Linked DNA regions of Homo sapiens: regions 2, 3, 4, 5, 6 and 7 are each linked to region 1. The links are contacts of gene promoters, found by promoter capture Hi-C in blood cells and fetal thymus (Javierre and others, 2016). All regions are on one chromosome and are shown on one strand. The core of a region is centred on a gene start or on the middle of the fragment in contact, and the rest is flanking DNA. Distances in the headings are between cores, read along the strand shown.

Region 1 (3,315 bases), core at 816-3,315:
TAAGCGCTGTGTCCAACCAACCCTTTACCTGGCATTTTAGCCAGCAAGACCCGCTTGCATTGCAGTCGTTCACGGTGCTCGCTGGCACAATTTTAGAATGTTACATGAATACTCAGGCCTGACTAACCTTCCCCTCCAAAAAACAACAAAACAGAACAAGGCTAAGCCTTTACTACTCAGAGACACATCTGTAAGACCCCACAGGGACAAGAAAAGTAGCTGTGATCTAGGTCTGCACTAAAGCTGCCTTTCCTGGCACTCAGAAGTGCCCTTCCAGGCCTAACTGCAGAAGGGTGGCCTCAGCCTCCTCCTCCTCCTCCTTGGCTTCCTCCTCACGGATCTGCACCAGCAACTGAAAGAGGTTTGGGGCTGGCCCTTCCCCAGCCCCGGTAAGCCACAGCTGCCTTCGGATGGCCCCGCTGTGGTTGGCCCCGGCAATGACCTGCTCTAGGCGGGCCTGGTTCACATTATCTTTATCAATGGCCCCCTTCTCTACCACCTTCTGTAGCAGAGGCTCCAGACGAATGACATAAGCAGACAATTTTTCTCCCGGGTTCTGATAAGTGTTCAGAAATTTGATCTGGGCATCCCTAGAGCTCTCAACGCTCCCAAACACCTGCTCAAGCGCCTTCAGGCATTCGGCAGTGGTTATCGCGGGGTTGTTGGACTTAAGGATGCGAATAACATCAGCGGCGGGGCCTCTAAGACTCTCCATCAACCGCCGCCTCTTTTCTACATCGGACACCTGCCACTCCTCTAGGACCTCATTAGTGTGCTCCAGCCAGGGATCAAAGGTTTCCTCTCCAGGCCCTGGGATGTCCCTCCCCGAGAAAAGTGTCAGCCTCTTGTACCATATGGACTCAACAAGAGGCTGAATAACATTATCCAAAATATAGTTTAGCATCTCTGCTGGCATCTCTGGGCCCGGGGTCGGAGTAGGGTTCTGAAACCCAAGGACACGGGCAACATCTTGCACGGTCCACCCCTCTCTAGCTAGGAAGAGGTGCAATCTTTCTAAAAATTCAGCATCAGAAGTTGGGGGCTTAAATAACACTTTCCAGACCCCTCCTTTGCCCGGCATCTCCCTGGGGATCGCGGCGTAATCTACAGCGCCAGTGAGCTCTAATAAGGCTGCTTTCGCATTTTCTTCCCTCCAGAACATTCTCCCAAGCATTCGGTAGGAGACCTGGGGCATCGCAGCCTGGAGGGTCTCTTCGATTTCAGCCTCATCACAGTTCACTGGGATGCCCCAGACTAACAGAGCTCTCTGGGAGTTCACATCCATCCCCCGGCACCAGTCTTCCAACAGTGTCATCGCCATTTTCTCAACTATCAAGACGCCAAATTCTACCAACAGACTGTGGCTCACCGTGCTCCTGGCCTTAGAACAATACCAGACACTCCCACCAAGTAGGCCCGAGGGAGGCGACCTTCATGCAGTCACGATTAACAAAGACAGAGTCCTGATCTCGCCCTTCTCTGCCCCCACAGTCAGTCCGTAGGTGCACTCGGAGCCGAGCTCGGGGACGCTGAGGCAGTCACGCGGCCGTCGCCATCTTGCGTCTGGGTCTGGGTCCGGTCGGGTCCGCCGCCTGCAGCAGGGGCGTCGCGTCGTCGTGCAGCGGGCGAGGAGCGACGGCGGGCGGCGAAGGCAGGCGCGCTGGGCCGAGAGCCGCCGGGGTGTGGTCGCGGGGCGTGGCCGCCGGGCGCTCGCTGCGGCTCCTGGAGAGGATCGGGCGTTCGCGGTCGCAGCCTGGTCTTCCCGCGGGCGAGGAGCGGCCGTTTGGGAGACTAGCCAGAGGGAGAAACTGTGCCGAAGTCGCGGCGGCTGCGGGCCAGCGGAAAGCGGCTTCTTGGCGGGCGCGGGGACTCCTCTGGGCGGGCGGCGAGGACGGCCGAGGACCAGAAACGAAGGCAGCAGAGGAGCAGGAAAGTCGGAGAAGCGAGGCTGGAGACAGCAGAGGCGAGGGTGGGAAGGGGCGGCCGCGGCGGCCCGCAGCGGTTCAGGCGCTGCGCGGCTGCTCTGGCGTCCAGTCCTACCCGCAACCCGCCGCGACGTTACTGCTGCAGTGGAGGATGGGGCCAGCCGGCGAGCGGCGTCCGCCCCGCCCCGCCCCGTCCCGCCCCCGCGGCGGAGCTGCTCGGGCGTCTCCATGGCAACGGTGTCCCAGCCGGCGCGAGGCACGCCTGCTCCGGCGGCTCGCGGGGGTCGAGCGGTTGCCGTGGAGCCAGCGAGGGGCTCGGGCATTTGTTTCTCTGATGGCGCATTTCCTTTTTCATAATTTAGCATTTTAACAGTAAACAACTACTACTAAGCACCGTGTTTTAAAAATAATAACCCAATCCTGGAGTGGATTTAAGATGATATTGTTGGAAATGCATCCCTCATGGTGGACTTGTCTACTCGGGTTGCTCAGCCAGTCCACCCTGCACGTGAAAATACTCTCCTCAGAACCCTGGCTTCCCGTTGCCCCTGACCACACTGTGCACCCTGCATATTTCATCCCAATGAAGCCAAAATGTCGGAGTGCGCCATTTCTGTGTATTTGTGTGAGACACTGAGTTTAGACTTTTTCTTGTCTAAAATTTTGTAAAAATCTGTCTGTGTCTACTGAGTCATCTTTTAGCCAGGCAAACATTAGTGTATTATTTTCCTTTTCCTGGCTGGCATCATTGACAATAGGCTGCTAAAAGAGAATCCTTATGGTTCAAAAATGTCGAGTAATCTCCCTGCAAGCAAGACAAGGCGCACTTACATCAACCCCAGATGGTGAAAATCCCAAGAGAACAAAGCATTCAACTCTGAATTTTTAAAACCTTATTTAATAAAAGGTTTAAAGATACAGAAGAACATTCAAAAGTAAATAAGTTACATAGGTACATTACAATCACATCAGCAAGATTCTTTAGTGTATTAATTTTTTTCTTATAAAAAGCACACAAAAAATAAAATCTTCAGTCTCTATCACAACTGTACAGCAAAAGAGGTAATATTTATATATGTACACTATTTTAATATGTAACAGTCTTTTTAAAAAAGGATGCCACAGGCAGCAAACACACAAAAGGCAGTGTCTGATCATTTTTGTTTCAAAATAAAAGGAATATACTTATTTATATGCTATTAAAATATCTGTACAATAATTACAGACTGTCAAGGCTGTTCCTGTGCTCTGTCCCCTCCAACAAAGCCTTCAACTTAGAGACAAATGAGGAAAAAGTGAAACAGCTGCAAATTGTTAGAAGCAAATATTAACATAGCAAAATGTGGGGAGGACACAATTGTTTTATAAAAATATCCCTACTTCCTGTAAA
Region 2 (3,315 bases), core at 269-2,768, 250 kb after region 1:
CATGTGGACAGTAAGAAAGAGTGCCTCTGACAGAGTTCACTGAGAACTTCAATGTCTTTTTTTGACATTGAGTTATCTCTGTGGCTTCTGTCATTTATTAGCTCAGACCACAGCATTAATTACTGATTTTTTTAATCTTAAATGACAAGACACTGCTGTCCTGGGACCTTGCTTTAGGTTTAGTTATGGCTTTTTCCTCAGCCTATGTGGCCCACCTTTCTAATTTTTTTTCCTCTCTTTTGACCTCCCCAGACCGAGTGACGGTTCTCTACAGGAGCAAAGCCATTCGCTATACCTGGCCTTGTCCATTTCCTATGGCCGACTCCAGCCCTTGGGTTCATATTACCCTAGGTGATGGCAGCACCTTCCAGACCAAATTGTTGGTAGTTGAAGATTCTTATTTTGCTAGGGGTCTTGTATATCTACATCTTATCCTAGATTCTAGGGACTCTGGTTTTCGATTTAAGCTATAGTTTAATTTTAGGCAAAACTTTTGGTTATGAGGACCAGTACCTATTCAGGCCAGCTCAAGTGGAGATGGTCTCATCGTAAATCCTGTACAGGGAGCAATCTCATGGGCCGTCTTAGGTTGTGAAATAACAGATAGCTGGGCCTCACAGGACAGGCACCAGAGTGTTGGGAATGGAGGCTGTTCTTTCCCTCTGAGGAGTCTGTGGTCATTGATCTCTTGCCTCTCATTTTTCTCCTTTCTGCTCACAAGCTTCCCTTTTTGCATGGTAGCCATTCCTAACCCTACATCAGAACTATTCAGCTCCAGTGTGTGCCCCATACTGAAACTTTCCTTATTGCTCTCTAGTTCAAATATCAGGAGGGCCTGGCTGAGTTTAACTCATGGCTGGCACCTGTTCAGTCATGTCCAGCTTTGGCTCTGTTGGCTGAGGCTGATGTGACAGTGCAGGGGCTCCACCTCTAGGGGCTGTGAGTGAAGCAGGCCTGATGGAATTATCCTGCCACACAACAATCAGAGCTGGAGGAAACTTTAGGGAGCAGAGAAAAACTTCTGAAGCAGTTTATGAAGAGGCTGGAAGACTTAGCAGGCTCATGTGTCCATGCAGATAGGTGCAGATGGTCACAACTCCGGAGTACGGCAGGCTGTTGGAATCCAGAATGTGAGCTGGAACTATGACCAGTCTGCTGTTGTGGCTACTCTGCATTTATCAGAGGTAAGATCCTGAGCTGCCATCTGGGGACTTTATTCATAGGCACTAGGTACTTCACAGAGAAACTTTTCTCCTCTCTGTTGCAGGCCACAGAAAACAACGTAGCCTGGCAGAGATTTCTTCCCTCTGGGCCTATTGCTCTGCTCCCGGTAAGAGGTCCTTCTGACCAGTCCGCCCACATGCATGCAAGCCTTTCCTCTTCACTTTCTCTCAGCCTTTTTCTGGTTTCAAGGGAATCTGCCCAGGCTGTTTGTAAGTTCCCTTTTTGTCTTTTTATGCTTGAGAGTTTCCAAGTGCAGCAGAGTCTTAGCCGTTGGTATTGGTGTTCTTTTGACACAGCTCTCAGACACCTTGAGTTCCTTGGTTTGGTCCACGTCCCATGAACATGCAGCAGAGCTAGTTAGCATGGATGAGGAAAAATTTGTGGATGCCGTTAACTCTGCCTTTGTGAGTATCAATTTACCCAGCTGATGATGTGCTGCAGGGGGAGATACAGAAAGGTGTTGTTTTTTTTTTTTTGAAACGGATCCTTGCCAGGCTGGAGCGCAGTGGCGCGATCTTGGCTCACTGTGCAATCTCCGCCTCCCGGGTTCAAGCGATTCTCCTGCCTCAGCCTCCTAAGTAGCTGGGACTACAGGCACGTGCCACCATGCCCAGCTAATTTTTCTATTTTTAGTAGAGATGAGGTTTCACCATGTTGGCCAGGCTGGTCTCAAACTCCTGACCTCAAGTGATCTGCCTGCCTTGGCCTCCCAAAGTGCTGGGATTACAGGCGTGAGCCACTGCACCCAGCCAGAAAGGTGGTTTTGAGTCAGGAAAAAGGAGTAACCAGTCAGCTGTCCCTTTCTACTTTGTAACTATAATGCTTGGTCTAGATTATGTGGAGGAGTGTACACACGGAAATGCAAAACAATAGAAATAATAAATAATAACCTTTTGAGGGTTGTGGGCTGCTGTTAGGCTGACTGAAACAGCTGCCTGGGTGGTGGTTAGCATTGGCCTTTTTTTGAAGCTGTAACACTTGGATTATTTTGAACAGTTCTGCTAGGTTGCAGCTACCTGAACCTTTCAAGCCTGATTCATTGAAAGTATTCCTAGGGAAAGGCCGAGCGAATTTCAGCATGGGGCTTAAGAGTAAGCTTAGTAGATAGATGTGGGTTCAAAATGTAAATAGTATCACTAACTGCTCAGGATTGAATAAAGACTTTCAAAATGAGAGAACTTTTGTAAAATCCATGGAACATCTTTAGTACATTGTAGGTGCTCAACAAATACTAATAATTCTGGAGTAGACACAGCCTTTGGATAATATGGGTACCAGTATTACTTTTGGAGCCTAAATGACACTCAAAGCCTGCTACCTTCACACCAAAGACTCCACTGCTCTGTAGTAGCAACAAGAATAAAGGGAACTGAACATACTGAAATGGATTCCGAGATAAATGGTGAACACTACCCTACTCTGGGCCATTTAGTATATATTCCTGGCACAGGTCTAGGTCCTCTGCAGTGCAGTCATTCACCATTAATTGTCCTTTCTATGTAGCAGGCTCTGGAGATACTGAGAACAGTCTCCGCTTTCAGGAAGTTCATAGTCAAGTAAGGAAGACCGTAAATGACAATCTCCGTACAGTGATAGAAGTATGCATAGGATGCTGTGGAAGCATACAGGGGGGAAACACAGAGAAAGACTGGAGGAGTTAAAAAGAGGCGACGTCTTCTGGATGCTCTGAGATGTTATCCTAATGAAATAGAGACGGGCATTCTAAGCAGAGGAGAGTCATGGAGGTAGAAGGATACTGTGTGATGAGCTATACTGTGGCTGGTGCGTGGTTATTGAGGGTGGGGACTAGTGAAAGGTGAAGCTCAGAAGTAGGCAGGGGCCAGCTCATGTACAGTTTGGCTAGATCTTAAAACCTCTGGGGAGTGATGAGAAGTTGCTTTGCACTTGAGGGGCTTATCACTTGTCAAGATCAGTGTAGGCAAGTTGGGTAGCATTAGCCTAAGCTTTGGTTACAAACAAGGTTTCTTTATTGAATTTTTAATTCCCTGCTACTCACATTTCACCTTGTTTGTCTTGTGGCTGATGCTGCTCAGTGGAGTGATGCTGACCACACGGACTTCATCGACACAG
Region 3 (3,315 bases), core at 563-3,062, 220 kb before region 1:
CTTGGGTTTGGGGTTGATGGGGAGAAAATAGGAAGGGAGGGAAATAGTATTTCTGAAACAATGAGGGTTACTTGATAGGACTAATAGGATTTTTGTTTTGTTTTTGTCTTTACTAGTAGGACCTTGTAACCCAATCTTGCACAGATGCTTTGCATCTTCAAATGATGTGGCATCTGTGTCTGGGGTTTTAGAAAGTACTTCTATGGTGGGAAAAAGGGTATGTACATGTTTGAGGAGGACAGGGTCTGAGGAACTCTTGAGAGTCCTGAATTTTCTCTTGAGAACAGAGCTTGCACTTATTTACCCTGTTCTTGATCTCCTGAAGCATTTCTTGGTTTCCTTCATTTCCTAAGTTGAGTATCTTCATTGTCTGGTACATTTCTCTGAAAGATAAGAAGGGCTTCTTAGATTATTCTACCCTGCCCTTTAAAAAAGTATGGGGGTAGAAAATATAGGACTTGGAATCAGGTAAGAATCCCAAGTTCCAATCCTAACTGTGCAGTTTTGCTGAGCCTTATATGCAAAAATGGTATAATGCTTAGCTTACAGGAATAATGTGCAGTTTTTGAGACAATATATTTGTGGGTTTTTTGTTTACTTTTTGTTTTTGCGAGATGGAGTCTTGCTCTGTTTCCCAGAGCTGGAGTGCAATGGCACGATCTCGTCTCGGCTCACTGCAACCTCCACCTCCCAGGTTCAAGCGATTCTCCTGCCTCAGCCTCCTGAGTTGCTGGGACTACAGGCGCGTGCCATCATGCCCAGCTAGTTTTTGTATTTTTAGTAGAGATGGGGTTTCACCATGTTGGCCAGGCTGGTCTAGAACTCCTGACCTCAGGTGATCCACCCGCCTTGGCCTCCCAAAGTGTTGGGGCTACAGGTGTGAGCCACTGCACCCGGCCATGCCCGTCTAATTTTTGTATTTTTAGTAGAGACAGGTTTCACCATGTTGGCCAGGCTGGTCTAGAACTCCTGACCTCAGGTGATCCATCTGCCTCAGCCTCCCAAAGTGTTGGGATTACAGATGTGAGCCACCTCATCTGGCCAAGACAATATATTTGAAGGTGCCAATAGGTACCATTTACTGAACACCTTTATGACAGGCGCTAAACATGTCATCTCATTAATTATCACCACAACCCTATAATGTAGACTATCACCTGCATTTGATACATGAAAAAAATGGGCTCACAGAGTTTAAATACCTTACACGGGCTCACATAGCTATTGCATGCCAGAGCTGGAATTCAAACCCTGGTCTTTTTGACTCTAAAACTTGTTGTCCCAATAGGCATTTGATAAATGTTAGTTGAATATATGAATAACTTAAAACCCATCCTTTTTTTTTTTGAGACGGAGTTTTGCTCTTGTTGCCCAGGCTGGAGTGCAATGGCACCATCTCGGCTCACCGCAACCTCCACTTCCCAGGTTCAAGTGATTCTCCTGCCTCAGCCTCCCTAGTAGCTGGGATTACAGGCATGTGCCACCATGCCTGGCTAATTTTGTATTTTTAGTAGAGACAGGGTTTCTCCATTTTGGTCAGGCTGGTCTCAAACTCCCGACCTCAGGTGATCCTCCTGCCTCAGCCTCCCAAAGTGCTGGGATTACAGGCGTGAGTCATCACACCCGGCCAAAACCCATCCTGGTGGGGAGAAAAGATGCATGAACTACATAAGCTTGACTTTCAATCTAATTTAGGCCAGTTTTTCAGTTACCTACTTGGGTGAGTGGTGAATGTGCAGGTGAACCAGTGCTTTTACTGCCATTAGGTAGCCTGGAAAGGCAGGGACATATTCAATGAGCAAAGATGTGAGAGTTGGCAGTATAAGGTCATGGTGGGAGCCAGAGGTTTAGTGCTTACTTTAGAACAGCATCGTGGTTCTCCAGGAGCAGCACGTCTAGGAAGGTGTCCCTGACCCGGTCCCCTTGAAGTTTCAGGGCTAGGATGCTACGGCAAGCTTCCAGCCGTACACCTGGTGACTCTTCATAGTGGATAGCCCAGAGCAGAAGATCCGTCAGCTCGGGACTTACTTGCCCAATCTGTCCCAAAGCTGCAGAGATTAGAGGGCAGCATGTCACTGAAGACTGAGCTTACTATATTCTAGCATCCAGAAATAAATTGAGTTTTGCAAACAATACCTTCCCTTTTGGATGGTAATCACCATTAGAATTTTAGGGATAGGTCAGAATGGGACATTACCTCCAAAGGATTCCTAGAAGAGGGATGTTCCATCCCATCCTTGCCTGTTAGGATATTTGCCTATTTTGGGATGAAATATAGAACAAATAACATGGAAGACCTGCCTAGTCCCAGCAGGGTGATGGGGAAAGGAGGCACAATTATTTATCTATGTCAAAAAGAGAAGCAATGCCAAAGATTCTAAAAAGAAACTAGGCAGATTAAGGGGCAGGGTTTTAGGTCTGTAGCAGTCTTGAAACTGATCTGACTTTTGCAGAGCGTAATAGTTGAGATCTCCAAGGAAAGCAAGATGCATCCAGCACTGGATACCTACTTGGAACTTATCCTTAATTCTGTTGGCAGGGACTGTCTTGTCAGCCCTTTCTTTAACTTAAGTTTGACATATACCTAGACTCAGGATCTTTCACTAAAAATTGAAGAAAATTATCTTTCTCTTTTCAGACAAGGAACTTCTGAAAAGCTAAGATCATTACCTCTCCTGCACTTCACCCCATTAGAGAGTTTCAGGGGATCATTTCTACTTGCATAGGCAAAGGTATTTAAGGTTGAAGAGTTTGGGGCACTACTTCTATAATACCTCGAATGGCAAAGGCCTTGATTTTCCAGTAAGGATCTCTCTGCATCAGGTTCAGGAGGCATTCAAGCACCTGGGATGGAAAAGGCAGTGTTGAGTGGGGAGGACCAGAGCAAGAATGAACCAGAAACAGCTGGGTGCGGTGGTGCACCCCTGTAATCCCAGCATTTTGGGATGCCAAGGTGGGCGGATCACTTGACATCAGGAGTTTGAGACCAGCCTGGCCAACATGGTGAAACCCTGTCTCTACTAAAAATACAAAAATTAGCCGGGCATGGTGTCACACGCCTGTAATCCCAGCTACTCGGAGGCTGAGGTAGGAGAATTGCTTGGACCTGGGAGGCGGAGGTTGTAGTGAGCTGAGATCGTGCCACTGTACTCCAGCCTGGGTGACAGAGCGAGTCTCCATCTCAAAAAAGCAAAAAAACAAAACAAAGCAAAAGAATGAATCAGAAACAGGGAAACCACTTATCTCTAAAAGGAGCTATAATTGAAAAATGACCTATCAATTCTGGTGACAAATGAGCTGGAGCCTAAAGTACCA
Region 4 (3,315 bases), core at 434-2,933, 210 kb after region 1:
GCCACCGTGCCCGGCCTTTTTTTTTTTTTTTTTTTTTTTTTTTTTTGACAGAGTCTCACTCTGGCTCAGGCTAGAGTGCAGTGGCATGATCTTGGCTCACTGCAACTTCCACCTCCTGGGTTCAAGCAATTCTCCTGCCTCAACCTCCCAAGCAGCTGGGATTATATGCGCCCGCCACCACGCCTAGCTAATTTTTGTAGAGATGCGGTTTCACTATGTTGGCCGGGCTGGTCTTGATCTCCTGACCTCAAGTAATCTGCCCGCCTCGGCCTCCCAAAGTGCTGGGATTACATGTGTGAACCACTGCACCTGGCTAAAATAAATTTATTTTAGATTCAGGGGGTACATGTGCAGGTTTGTTACAAGGGTATATTCCAAGATGCTGAAGTTTGGGCTACTAATGACCCTGTTGACCAAGCAGTGAACATAGTACCTGATAGGTAGTTTTTCAGCCCTTGCCCCGTAGCCGCTTTTGGAATCCCCAGTGTTTATTGTTCCCATCTTTGTGTCCATAAGTACCCAGTGTTTAGCTCCCGCTTATAAGTGAGAACATGGTGTTTGATTTTCTGTTTCTGTGTTAATTTGCTTAAGATAATGGCCTCCAGCTGCATCCATGTTGCTGCAGAGGACATGATTTTGTTCTTTTTTATGGCTGCATAGTATTTCATGGTGTGTATGTGCCACATTTTCTGTATCGTATTTACCATTGATGGGCACCTGGGTTGATTCCATGTCTTTGCTGTTGTGAATAGTGCTGCATTGAACATGTGAGGGCAAGTGTCTTTTTGGTAGAGCAGTTTATTTTCCTTTGGGTAGATAGCCAGTAATGGGATTGCTGGTTCAAATGGTGATTCAGTTTTTAGTTCTAAGCTTTGTAATATTCCACCCTGTTTCTATTGTATAGGTTTTTTTTTTTTTTTTTTTTTTTTTGCTATGCAGGACTACTGCAGTATCTATAGCTTTTTAGTCAGTCTCTGTGATGAATATTTACGTTGTTTCCAGTATTTAGCCATTTAAAATAATGTTGCCGTGATGAATAACCTTGTGCACAGAGTATTTCACATTTTGCTGCTGTAATTTTGGGACATATTCCTAGAAGTGGGATTCCTAGGTCAAAGGGCAAGTGCATCTACAATTTTTCTAGATCTGGTCAGATTCCCCCAAAGAGGTTTTTGTATTTTGCATTCCCAGCAAAATACAATCAGCAATGATGATTGCTGTACCATGTGTTTGTCAATTGTGAATTTGTTCCTAGCATTTAGAAATTGGGAGATTCTACTTAAAAATCCTTATTTCCAGTGTCTTAAAAAAAAATCAGAGAATCTGCCTTAATCTACCCATGGCAACAGTTGGCTAGAGCTGAATAACAGCTGCCCCTTTTCTAGGTACTCTCTAGGTTACTGCAGCCCCCACTTGGCCATTTTACTTACTTTTGCTACCTATCAGTCTCCTATAGACATGAGTTTTTGACCCCTGCTCTAAGTATGGTTTTCTGGGTAGGTAGAATGGAGACGGAGAGTTTGGGACTTGAAGACATAGAGGACAATTTAGATTATTATGTTGTAAGAGCCACCAGTGTGAATGTTGATGACCCTAAAGAGGGTGGCAGGGAATATGACAAGGGGATATTAGGAACACAGGATTGAAATCCTTGAGGAAAGCACATGTCCTAGAGGTCCATGGAAGACTAACTGAAAAAGAAGGCATATTTTTTGTGGTTGCCATGGTCCTATACCAAAGAGGTTTTGTGAAGGCAGCATTACAGAAGGTCTGGAAAGGACCAGCAGCTGGGAGCAGGGAGTGTGCTAAAGCCCTCCTGGTGTACTCTTCCTGCCTTCCCCCATATACTGAAGTTTGAGAGGCTGGGAAGGTGCGGAATGGGAAAAGGAGCAGCTGCTTATGTTCAGTTTAACATTCTCTGGGTTTCTCCATCTAGGTCTTGAGTTCATTCTCTTCCTGTCCTTTTGGCTTCCTTGTTTAACCTGGTCCCTGTTTCAGGAGAGAAGCCTCATCAGTGCCAAGTCTGTGGGAAGACCTTCTCTCAGAGTGGAAGCAGGAATGTGCATATGAGAAAGCATCACCTGCAGCTGGGAGCAGCTGGGAGTCAAGAGCAGGAGCAAACTGGTGAGGAGGGTGGGCATAGTGGAACGCTGTACTACTTCTAGGGTTCCAAGAGCCAAATCACTGTCCTGCCTGCTTATCTGGAAATTTTCTGATTCTGTTTTGGGTAGATAGACCTGGTCTCATTTGATGGGCTGATGGTTTCCAAACATAGCTATACAGTAGAATCATCTGCAACCTTTTAAAATTTATATACTTTTTGTTGCTTGTCCGCCCACCAATAAAACAAAGCAATCTGATAAATGAGATAATTTGCAAGATCCTAGAATCTGTAGTTTTAAAAGTTTCCCTAGTGAGTTTGATGGTAACTAGTGCTGATCCATGAACAAGCATTTGAGTAACACAGTGATAAAAGATTTCCACATGGGAAGAGTTTAAGCTTTTTAATTTTTTTAGATGGAGTCTTGCTTTGTCACCCAGGCTGGAGTGCAGTGGCGCCATCTCGACTCACTGCAACCTCTGCCTCCTGGGTTCAAGCAGTTTTCCTGCCTCAGCCTCTTGAGTAGCTGGGATTATAGGCAGGTGCCACCACACCTGGCTGATTTTTATATTTTTGTAGAGACGGGGTTTCACCATGTTGGCCAGGCTGGAAGCATATTTTATTTACCAGTCATGACTACCTTTTTGCCCTGCCTGAAATTTGATAACTCTTTTTAATTCTTATTCCTTCGCCATATCTTTCCTTAATTATTCCAAATATTCCTTTCTAAAGATCCACCTATCCTGTTTCATATGCTAATTCTTCAGACGCTGAACACAAGCAAGGATCATTATCTTCTAAGGCTTACTCTTTCCCTTCTAGGTTTATTCTTGTTTCTCGAAAGTAGGTGAAATAGGGGGTGGCATCCCATCTATAGGTTAACTTCTAGTAATGAAAGAGAAGGCCAGCTTCTGTTGAAAGAAAATGAGGACCAGGCACAGCCTTGATTGCTGTATGTCTCTCACAACCTATTCTCTGTGCAGCTGAGCCACTAATGGGCAGTAGTTTGCTTGAAGAGGCTTCAGTACCCAGTAAAAACCTGGTGTCTATGAATTCCCAGCCCAGCCTTGGTGGAGAGTCCTTGAACCTACCAAATACCAATTCTATCCTGGGAGTTGATGATGGTAAGACTTCCAACTCTCCTTTATTTGGGAAAAATGGGCTGCAACTAGGGGCTAAGGAATGGGGTGTCTCCACAATGTATGTTTAAATCT
Region 5 (3,315 bases), core at 325-2,824, 180 kb after region 1:
TTCAGGAAACGTATGAAACAATGAACATGGATTCTAGAGAAGTCTCAAGCATAAACAGAAAAGAAGGCAAGTCTGGGACCCTGGGAAAAAACATTTAAGAGGACAACAGAACAGGAAGGAGCAGCTGGAAGGGGATGAAGAGAACTGGGAGAGAGTGGTAGCAGGGAAGCCAAGGGAGGAAGAAGTTTTAAGGCAGAAAAGATACTAAATCATGCCAAATACTACATGATGGGCTTATTAGTGAGAAGAAGTGTGTGTCTGGTGACCCTAGCAAGAGCAATTGTTACTGTGGTAGCTGAGGTAGAGGCCAGGGTTAAAGAGATGGGGAGTGGATGGGAGGTAAGACAATAGATACACAAGTTAGAAGGTACACTTGTTCAAGAAGCTTGACTTTAAAGGAACAGGGAAGAAGGTAAATAGCTAGAGAAGTACTTGGGGTTTTCTAATTCTTTTTAAAAATAAGGGTGAGAGACTTGAGTTAGGACATATTTAAAGACATAAGGAAATGCTGGCCGATAGAGAGGAACTAGTTGCAGATAGGAGAGAGGAGATAACACAAGTATATATGGGGGGATAATTGAAGAATGAGAATGAAATACAGTAGGTGGGGATTAGTCTGGTTGACCAAGAAAGACAGCTTTGCCTTGAAACCAGAGGAGGCAAGGTAATGACAAGCCTGTAGACTAAAGGTAGAAAGATGATAGCCTGCTCTTCAGTGAGAAGTTTGAGGTAAAAGGCGAAGGTCAGGAATAGCTTATTTAGGACATGGAGAGTTTCTGGGCCAGGCGCAGTGGCTCACGCCTGTAATCCCAGTACTTTGGGAGGCCGACGTGGGCGAATCACGAGGTCAGGAGTTCAAGACCAGCCTGACCAACATGGTGAAACCCCGTCTCTACTAAAAATACAAAAATTAGCCGGGCGTGGTGGTGCATGCCTGTAATCCCAGCTACTCAGGAGGCTGAGGCAGGAGAATCACTTGAACCTGGGAAGCGGAGGTTGCAGTAAGCCGAGATTGCGCCACTGCACTCCAGCCTGGGTGACAGAGCGAGACGCCGTCTCAAAAAAAAAAAAAAAAAAAGGGACATGGAGAGTCTCTGAGCCAGGGCAAATAAAAAGCTTGCTTGGTTTCTAACTTTTCATATATTTTGTTTCTTCCAGGTCTGGGCTCTTCAGCTGAGCACTTAGTGTTTGTACAGGATGAGGCAGAAGATTCAGGGAATGATTTCCTCTCCAGTGAGAGCACAGACAGTAGCATTCCATGGTTCCTCCGGGTTCAGGAGTTGGCCCATGACAGTTTGATTGCTGCTACTCGTGCACAACTGGCAAAGAATGCAAAAACCAGCAGCAATGGTGAGGCCCGTCGGCATTTTCCTTGCCACTATTCTGTGCAAAGAGATTTTGGTAATGCAGTGGCTGGTTTGAGTTGTATATAATTTAAATTATTCTATTGATGAGAGCAGAAGGCTAGAAATCTGTAAATTGTTTAAATTTTATTTTCTATAAAATAACTTGGTCATGCCAGATTTGTGTTCAAAACCAACTAGTATTCTGAATTCTCAACTTTAAATAATGTACAGAGCCCCTTTTAAAGAAAAAATAATATACATCCTGGGGTTTGAATTGTTTTTATTGTAATGTCTCTTAAATATGCAAAAACATAAATTCTGTGTAAACTTCATATACTTAGAGCTCTTATACCATCATGAAATCAAAACAGTTTTTATCAGTTAATAGGAATAAAACTACCAAATCCATGAAAATAAAAATAACATTAAGTCATTGTGGCAGAGGATTATGTTTTGCTGAAACTAAATTGCTGCTCATGGCAGTTTAACAATTAGCTATGATGGTTTTAATGCTTTTTCTTTTCAGTTCAGCATGCCTATACTACTTACTCTGTGTCACTTTTCTCTGTTCTAGTAATTTTCAAAGCATTGTCACTGGATCATTGACGTCACGTGGGAACTGAGAAATATAAACTCTCAGGCCCATGCCAGACCTACTGAGTCAAAAACTTGGTTCTGATACATGTTAAAGCTTGAGAACCACGGCTCTATTCAGACCACTGCAGAATCTTTGCTTATGTAGCATGTCATGGATACTTTTTTAGGTCTGCCTCTGTGTTTTCTCATTAACATGTGACACAACTCAATACAACATGGTTTAATGCTATCATTATCACAAACTAAGCTTAAGCACTTAGTACACAGTTGTTTGGAGTTTATGCAGATTATCTAGTATATGCTTATTATTATTTTTTGATTACCATTCAAATGAAAATAAAAAGTTAAAATTTCTCATAGAGAACTAGAGTTCCCTATGAATATTTTGAAACATTAAATCTTTTTTTTTTTTGGTCTTTTTTTTTCCCTTTTTATGGAGAATGAGGTTTTGCTCTGTTGCCAGACAGGTCTCAAACTCCTGGACTCAGGGTCTCCTCCTGCCTCTGGCTCCCTAAGTGCTGGGATTTTAGGTGTGAGCAACCATCCCCAGCCAAACTCTAAACTGTTTGTTTTCAAAATACTTAGTTCTGTTTATGACTACCATAGTGCTACTTAGAATGGTTCATTTTAACATTTTGGTGGGACCCTTAAAGTTCAGATTCTTCCTGAGATATATGTGCCAATCTCCAGATGCTGAAACCTTCAGCATTTCCTCTTACATTGAAGAAATAGTGTCATATTTGCCAATGAGAAGCAGCGTAGGGAGGGGAGCTTGCAATTTAGAATCTGGGAGCCCTGGGATCCAGGCCTGGCACCATCATTTACTGGTTCCCTGCCTTGGGCAGTTTAACCTCCCTTAGCTTCAATTTTCTTACGATCTGAACATAGAGATCAGGCAGCTTTCCTGACTGGCTTGTTATGGAGATTATGTAACATTCTATCTGGGAAATGTTATAATCAGCAAAGCATTGTGTGGATGTTTTTCTTACTCTCAAAGTATGTTGCCTTACTATCTTAACAACTACTTTGTATGCCTGAATATAAAATCACCCCAAATAGGCTGGGCATTGTGGCTCATGCCTGTAATCCCTGCACTTTGGGAGGCCGAGGCAGGCAGATCATCTGAGGTCAGGAATTCGAGACCAGCCTGACCAACGTGGAGAAATCCCGTCTCTACTAAAAATACAAAATTAGCTGGGCGTGGTGGCGCATGCATGTAATCCCAGCTACTCAGGAAGGCTGAGACAGAACTGCTTGAACCCGGGAGGTGGAGGTTGCAGTGAGTGGAGATCGCACCACTGCACTCCAGCCTGGGCAACAAGAGCGAAACTTGGTCTCCCAAAAAAAAAAAAAATCACCCCAAATATAAGAC
Region 6 (3,315 bases), core at 230-2,729, 170 kb after region 1:
ATGATGTTCAGTAGGTTAGGTATATTAAATGCATTTTTTGCTTAGGATATTTTCAACTAATGATGGTTTTATTGGGACATATCCCTATCATAAGTTGAGGAACATAAGTCTACCTTTGTTCAATTTTAATAATTTTTTTTTAGGATGACATTGTCTGCCCTCAGTTCTTTTAGTTTCAAATTACTTTTCATTAAAAGCAGCGTAATCTAACCTTAATTGTAATGAACACTGTCATATACCTGTAATATCTTGTATACTGGTACATTTTTACATTTAAATGTGACAATATAAAGCCATTTAATCTTCAAATTTCCCCCCTAGATTGGCCATTTCTTAGGTTGTTCCAGAGTGGTGGGAATTTGTGGAACACATGAGAAATGCATCCTCTTGACCTCAGAACTGGGCTTTGATGCTGCAATTAATTATAAAAAAGACAATGTGGCAGAACAGCTCCGTGAATCATGCCCAGCTGGAGTGGATGTTTATTTTGACAATGTTGGTGGTAACATCAGTGATACAGTGATAAGTCAGGTTGTTTGCTGATTTCTATAACAAATTTGAATACTGCACTTTATATGTTGTGATATCTTTTTACCTAATACTGAGAAAAAAATTTATAAAATTGGAGGGATTATTGTGACTTAATGTGATGATCAGTATTGTATTTAAGTGATACAAAAGAGCTTGCTGATACCTACTTCCATTTACTTGCAGATTTGTACTATGAACTTCAATTTCAGTTATTTGCTACCAATATTATATTTTTCACTTTTGGTTTATTTTTGTGAAAAATTACAGTTGCATTGTTGAAATGCTGAAGCACTGATCCCTAACTCACCACTGACCAACTCACAGCCATGGCCCCAGACCTATGGGTTTCATAGGCTGCATGTATTTATGCATATTTACTAACAATATTATAAAATATCAACATGAGGTATTAACACTACATAGTCCTTTGCTGCATCTAAAATTATTTGCAGTTGAGATTATTAAATTGTTTAAATCCAAAAAAATACAGTTCTACCACTAATAAGTAGCAACAACAACTAATGTAATTCTTTTGCTGATTACCAACCATTTATTTGCCTTGGTGTTCCTTTGGAATGTAATTATTTCTAGCTAGTTAAAATTCTTAAATACCTCTAACAGGTAAATTAAAAAAAAAATCGAACTAGTTGACAGAAAGGATTAAATAGTCAAGGAGGCTTCCATTATGGCAGCCATAAAATCAGTAAACATAGGAAAGGGATATTTTATCATTATTTTTCTCTGTGCAGATGAATGAGAACAGCCACATCATCCTGTGTGGTCAAATTTCTCAGTACAACAAAGATGTGCCTTATCCTCCCCCGCTATCCCCTGCTATAGAGGCAATCCAGAAAGAAAGAAACATCACAAGGTGTGTTCTTCCTCTTTGCCCTTATTACCAGGTTCATGGGGTTTTAAATATCATAGATGTGTATGAAATCTATTGTTCTTCATAGACACTTTTTCTTTATTAAATAAAACTTTAGGTCGGGCATAGTGGCTTATGCCTGTAATCCTAGCACTTTGGGATGCCGAGACGGGTGGATTGCTTGAGGCCAGGAGTTCAAAACTAGCCTGGCCAACATGGTGAAACCCCTTCTCTACTAAAAATACAAAAAAATTAGCCGGGTGTAGTGATGGGCGCCTGTAATCCCAGCTACTTGGGAGGCTGAGGCAGGAGAATCACTTGAACCTGGGAGGTGGAGGTTGCAGTGAGCCAAAATCATGCCACTGCACTCCATCCAGCCTGGGCAATGAAAACGAAACTCCATCTCAAAAAAACAAAAAAAAAAAAACAAAAAAAAACCTTTAAAATACACATTTTTTAAGCTGGTTCAATATTTAGGTTCTGGCTAACTAGCTACCTGAAAACTGATAGTTATTGGCTTTGACTGGCCTGGGTTAAGTCACATGAGGGTCGAGAAAGGATGCTACCCACAAAGGAAAAATTCACGGTGCTATTAACAAATGGGGTTGTAGATACTGGGCAGACAAAAATTATTATTATTTGAGATGGAGTCTCGCTCAGCCGCCCAGGCTGGAGTAAAGTGGCGCGATCGCAGCTCACTAAAACCACCGTCTCCCAGGTTCAAGCGATTCTCCTGTCTCAGCCTCCCGAGTAGCTGGGACTACAGGCGCTCACTACCATGCCCGGCTAATTTTTTTGTATTTTTAGTAGAGACGGGGGTTTCACCGTGTTGGCCAGGCTGGTCTTGAAAAATTATTAATAGAAGTCTACATTTACACCTGTAACTATGCATAAAACTATCTGATCAGACTCAATGTGTTATGTCCTAATATTTTAAGGATTAACAGATATTAGAATTCTGGAATGGTTTGATCTTGGAATACCACTCCCGTTATATTCTCTGATCATTATCCTTTTCTTCCTCACTGCAGGGAAAGATTTCTGGTATTAAATTATAAAGACAAATTTGAGCCTGGCATTCTACAGCTGAGTCAGTGGTTTAAAGAAGGAAAGCTAAAGGTAGAACTTCTATTCTTTATCAATATAATTCTTCCTGCTACTTGATATAATTTTGCATTATTTAAATGTACTATAGCAAACATACTAGTTTCATTATAAAAATTCCTACAAAAGAAAAGTATGCTGAATATTATAAATTAACTCTACCTCCCAGGTGAGTATAACCTCCTGATCAACAAACCCTTGCTTGTTATTCCCTTTATCTAAAATTTTTTAGCTTTACTTTCCATAGATTATATTACAAAATCATTAGGTTTTCCCCCAAATGTAAAATTATGTTTATTAATTTAACAAATATTTATGGGATGCTACTATGTGTTAGAAGCTGTGCTTTCTCAAAAATAATGTGAGCACCTCCTGATGCTTATACCACCATACTTCTTCCCTGTCCTCCCTGGACATTCTAATGTATGTCTTAGTTGTTGATCGAAAATCAGGAGTTATTAATCTGGGCTTCAGACATACTGGCCTAGGCTATTCTTTTTTTTTTTTTTTTTTTTTTTTTTTTTGAGACGGAGTCTCACTTTGTCACCCAGGCTGTAGTGCAGTGGCGCAATCTCGGCTCACTGCAACCTCCGCCTCCTAGGTTCAAGCAATTATTCTGCTTCAGCCTCCCGAGTAGCTGGGATTACAGGCACATGCCACTCGCTCAGCTAATTTTTGTATTTTTAGTAGAGATGGGGTTTCACCATGTTGGCCAGGCTGGTCTCAAACTCCTGACCTCAAGTGTTCTGCCCATCCAGCCTCCCAAAGTGCTGGGATTACAGTTGTGAACCAGTGCACCTGGACTGGCCTAG
Region 7 (3,315 bases), core at 335-2,834, 130 kb after region 1:
GAATAGCTTGAGTGAGCTGAGACTGTGCCACTGCACTCCAGCCTGGGCAACAGAACAAGACTGTCTCAAAAAAAAAAAAAAAAAAAAAAAGAAAGAAAAGAAAGCAAGCTTGGAAGTGGATTCTTCCCCAGCTGAGTCTTCTTATGAGACCACAGCCCAGCCCAGACTGGCAGCTTGATTACAGAGACCTTGAGCCAGAATCACCCAGCTAAACTGTGCATGGCTTCCTGATCCTTCAAAACTCTGAGATAATACAATAAAAGTTCATAGTTTTTGTTTGTTTGTTTGTTTGTTTTTTGAGATGGAGTCTAGCTCTGTCACCCAGGCTGGAGTGCAGTGGCACAATCTTGGCTCACTGCAACCTCTGACTCCTGGGTTCAAGTGATTCTCCTTCCTCAGCCTCCTGAGTAGCTGGGATTACAGGCGCCCGGCACCACACCCAGCTAATTTTTGTATTTTTAGTAGAGACGGGGTTTCACTGTGTTGGCCAGGCTGGTCTCGAACTCCTGACCTCGTGATCCACCCACTTTGGCCCCCAGAAAGTGCTGGGATTACAAGCGTGAGCCACGGAAAAGTTCATTGTTTTAAACCACTAAGTTTTGGGGGTAATTTGTTTGTAGCAATAGATAACGATACAACAGCCAATCTTCAAAAGTTTTTCTTTCAAGGTTATTTTCACTTGGCATGCAAGAATTTCTAAACCTCTAAGAGTTTTCAAGCTCTCTTTTCTGAAATTGTACTTCAAAGGACAGATACATTAATGGGGAACAAAAACATGTTGATCACATTTATAAATATCCATACAACTTGGTAATCATATAAATGTTCTTAATTTAACACCTTATACGGTTAGAGTCTTTGAAATGATTTTATGATACAGAAATGTCGCTCTTCATCAGTAACTGCAGGGGAGAGAAGAAATCTCATTCATCTCTTTCTGGGACTCTTTTTGTTAATTTTGAAGACTTAGCATTTTTAAGGTCAGGCTCTGGATTTCATTAGTCAGCATTATATGTAAAATGTAGGCTAGTGGAGCTAAATTTTACTGGCAGAAGTGGAGGAAGAAATATAGCCGGGTGCAGTGGCTCATGCCTGTAATCCAAACACTTTAGGAGGCTGAGGCAGGTGGATCACTTGAGGTCAGGAGTTCAAGACCAGCCTGGCCAACATGGTAAAACCCCGTATCTACTAAAAATACAAAAATACAGGCATGGTGGTGGGTGCCTGTAGTCCCAGCTACTTGGGAGGCTGAGGCAGGAGAATCACTTGAACCTGGGAAGCAGAGGTTGCAGTGAGCCAAGATCCCGCCACTGCACTCCAGCCTGGGTGATAAAGCAAGACTCCATCTCAAAAAAAATTAAAGTAAATAAATAAATAAATAAGCTTTTATTTAATAGCAGTGAAATAGCTTATAGCATTCAAGCCCCTAAAGAGATCAGTCATACCAATAGGAGGTACAGGGGAGAAAATTTTGCTTTGCAATTTTGAGATACATTACCCACAGTGACTTTAACTAAAAGGAGTGGGAGAAAATTCAGGTCCAACAGAGGACAACTCTGACTGGCCATGTTAGTTCCAAGCTCCCCGGGGAGTTCAGCTTCTCCTGTTGCCCAGTCCTGCTTTCTTCCTCTTCCTCCGATAGGTATTGATTCAAAAGGTATTCCCTAATAGACATCCTGCATACCAAACTCCCCATCAGGGTTTGCTTTCCAGAGAACCCACCTTGTAATAGGCACAAATATGACCTTTTTCTAAATGCTCAATTTTTCTGAAAAAGCATTTATTTAAGCTTGAGTTTCACAGGATTCGGTTACAGCATTTTTTTTTTTTTTTTTTTTTTTTTTTTTTTTTTGAGACAGAGTCTTGCTCTGTCACCCAGGCTGGAGTATAGTGACGTGATCTGGGCTCACTGCAACCTCTGCCTCCCAGGTTCAAGCCATTCTTTTGCCTCAGCCTCCTGAGTAGCTGGGTTTATAGGCGCTCGCTACCATGCCCGGCTAATTTTTTGTATTTGTATTTGTATTTTTGTATTTTGTATTTTTAGTGGAGACAGGGTTTCACCATGTTGGCCAGGCTGGTCTCGAACTCCTGACCTCATGTGATCCGCCTGCCTCAGCCTCCCAAAGTGCTGGGATTACAGGCATGAGCCACCGAGCCCAGCCAGGTGTGGTTTTTATCTCTTACTTTGTTCTGTTATCTCTTTAGGATGTATGTTTGGGTTTGAATTTGTGTCATTATGAACAATTATCACCTCCATGGAAAAATGTTTTATTTAGCATCAAATAATCTTTGATGTTGCACTAAGTGTCATATACCATGCAGGTTGGTCAAACTTGAATGATTTCTCCTGAGTAATTTGCTATCATACGAGGTTATTTTCATTTAAAAATAATTTAATGAATGAAAAAACTAAAAAATAATTTAATGAATGAGTATACAAACATATTAGATTAAGTATTTATATTTATTTTATTTATTTATTTATTTCTGAGATGGAGTCTTGCTCTGTCGCCCAGGCTGGAGTGCAGTGGTGCAATCTCTGCTCACTGCAAGCTCTGCATCCCGGGTTCATGCCATTCTCCTGCCTCAGCCTCCTGAGTAGCTGGGACTATAGGCGCCCCCACCACGCTCAGCTAATTTTTTTGTATTTTTAGTAGAGACGGGGTTTCACCGTGTTACCCAGGATGGTCTTGATCTCCTGACCTTGTGATCCGCCCACGTCAGCCTCCCAAAGTGCTGGGATTACAGGCGTGAGTCACTGCGCTCGGCCAAGTATTTATATTTATTATGCATTTTTTTTTTTAAGAGACAGAATCTCATTCTGTTGCCCAGGCTGGAGTGCAGTGGTGCAAACACAGCTCACTGCAGCCTCGCCCTCCTGGGCTCAAGTGATCCTCACACCTCAGTCTGTCAAGCAGCTGAGACAACAGGCACACACATCACACCAGGCTAATTTTTAAAATTTTTTGTAGAGGTGGGTTTTGCCATGTTGCCTAGGCTGGTGTTGAACTCCTGGGCTCAATCGATCTTCCTACCTCTTGGCCTACCAAAGTTCTGGGATTACAGGTTTGAGCCACAGTGCCTGGCTTTTTTTTTTTTTTTTTTTCTTTTTTTGAGACAAAGTCTTACTCTGGCACCTAGGGTGGAATGTAGTGATGAGATCATAGCTAGCTGCAACTTGGAATTCCTGGGTTTAAGCGATCCTCCTGCCTCAGCCTCATGAGTAGCTGCTGGGACTGCAGGTGTGTGCCACCACACCTGGCTATTTTTTTTCTTTTTGTTTTTTTTTTTGGTTGTTGTTTGTTTTTTGTAGAG

The links. The method cuts DNA at HindIII sites, captures the fragments that hold promoters and counts their contacts. A CHiCAGO score of 5 or more calls a contact.
Region 2: a contact is called between a fragment that was not itself captured here and the fragment with the promoter of PNMA1 in region 1, in 4 of 17 cell types (activated CD4 T cells, total CD8 T cells, naive CD8 T cells and 1 more). The highest score is 6.2, in activated CD4 T cells.
Region 3: a fragment that was not itself captured here is called in contact with the fragment with the promoter of PNMA1 in region 1 in 3 of 17 cell types (M1 macrophages, erythroblasts and M0 macrophages); the score reaches 6.3 in M1 macrophages.
Region 4: a fragment that was not itself captured here is called in contact with the fragment with the promoter of PNMA1 in region 1 in 1 of 17 cell types (total CD8 T cells); the score reaches 5.1 in total CD8 T cells.
Region 5: a contact is called between a fragment that was not itself captured here and the fragment with the promoter of PNMA1 in region 1, in 4 of 17 cell types (naive CD4 T cells, total CD8 T cells, activated CD4 T cells and 1 more). The highest score is 5.9, in naive CD4 T cells.
Region 6: a fragment that was not itself captured here is called in contact with the fragment with the promoter of PNMA1 in region 1 in 11 of 17 cell types (M2 macrophages, activated CD4 T cells, M1 macrophages and 8 more); the score reaches 7.8 in M2 macrophages.
Region 7: a contact is called between a fragment that was not itself captured here and the fragment with the promoter of PNMA1 in region 1, in 12 of 17 cell types (non-activated CD4 T cells, total CD8 T cells, activated CD4 T cells and 9 more). The highest score is 9.8, in non-activated CD4 T cells.

Annotation. Positions count from the first base shown.
Region 1 is chr14:73,712,319-73,715,633 of GRCh38, forward strand. It overlaps PNMA1 (PNMA family member 1), which reads right to left and starts at 2,066. Exons shown (of 1, transcript NM_006029.5): 1 at 1-2,066. The coding sequence starts at 1,321. The coding sequence ends at 260. MIDEAS (mitotic deacetylase associated SANT domain protein) reads right to left here. Exons shown (of 13, transcript NM_001367710.1): 13 at 2,804-3,315. RefSeq lists enhancers at 1,462-1,521, 2,462-2,531 and silencers at 1,612-1,781, 1,962-2,241. The HindIII fragment of the contact is 4,676 bases long and covers 1-3,315 here.
Region 2 is chr14:73,957,895-73,961,209 of GRCh38, forward strand. It overlaps COQ6 (coenzyme Q6, monooxygenase), which reads left to right. Exons shown (of 12, transcript NM_182476.3): 5 at 253-383; 6 at 1,077-1,184; 7 at 1,268-1,330; 8 at 1,521-1,628; 9 at 3,279-3,315. It also overlaps a transcript of ENTPD5 not described here. Among named protein-coding and RNA genes, the nearest start is that of COQ6, 9.2 kb to the left of the region's middle. The HindIII fragment of the contact is 1,599 bases long and covers 720-2,318 here.
Region 3 is chr14:73,496,297-73,499,611 of GRCh38, forward strand. It overlaps HEATR4 (HEAT repeat containing 4), which reads right to left. Exons shown (of 18, transcript NM_001220484.1): 13 at 2,775-2,844; 14 at 1,859-2,048; 15 at 305-383. It also overlaps a transcript of ACOT1 not described here. Among named protein-coding and RNA genes, the nearest start is that of RIOX1, 7.0 kb to the left of the region's middle. The HindIII fragment of the contact is 282 bases long and covers 1,672-1,953 here.
Region 4 is chr14:73,918,982-73,922,296 of GRCh38, forward strand. ZNF410 (zinc finger protein 410) reads left to right here. Exons shown (of 12, transcript NM_021188.3): 9 at 1,999-2,124; 10 at 3,085-3,225. Among named protein-coding and RNA genes, the nearest start is that of FAM161B, 29 kb to the right of the region's middle. The HindIII fragment of the contact is 1,630 bases long and covers 869-2,498 here.
Region 5 is chr14:73,896,913-73,900,227 of GRCh38, forward strand. ZNF410 (zinc finger protein 410) reads left to right here. Exons shown (of 12, transcript NM_021188.3): 5 at 1,159-1,350. Among named protein-coding and RNA genes, the nearest start is that of ZNF410, 12 kb to the left of the region's middle. The HindIII fragment of the contact is 921 bases long and covers 1,115-2,035 here.
Region 6 is chr14:73,878,775-73,882,089 of GRCh38, forward strand. PTGR2 (prostaglandin reductase 2) reads left to right here. Exons shown (of 10, transcript NM_001146154.2): 6 at 322-531; 7 at 1,281-1,402; 8 at 2,431-2,518. Among named protein-coding and RNA genes, the nearest start is that of ZNF410, 6.4 kb to the right of the region's middle. The HindIII fragment of the contact is 3,993 bases long and covers 1-3,315 here.
Region 7 is chr14:73,846,150-73,849,464 of GRCh38, forward strand. No RefSeq gene overlaps it. Among named protein-coding and RNA genes, the nearest start is that of PTGR2, 4.0 kb to the right of the region's middle. The HindIII fragment of the contact is 406 bases long and covers 1,382-1,787 here.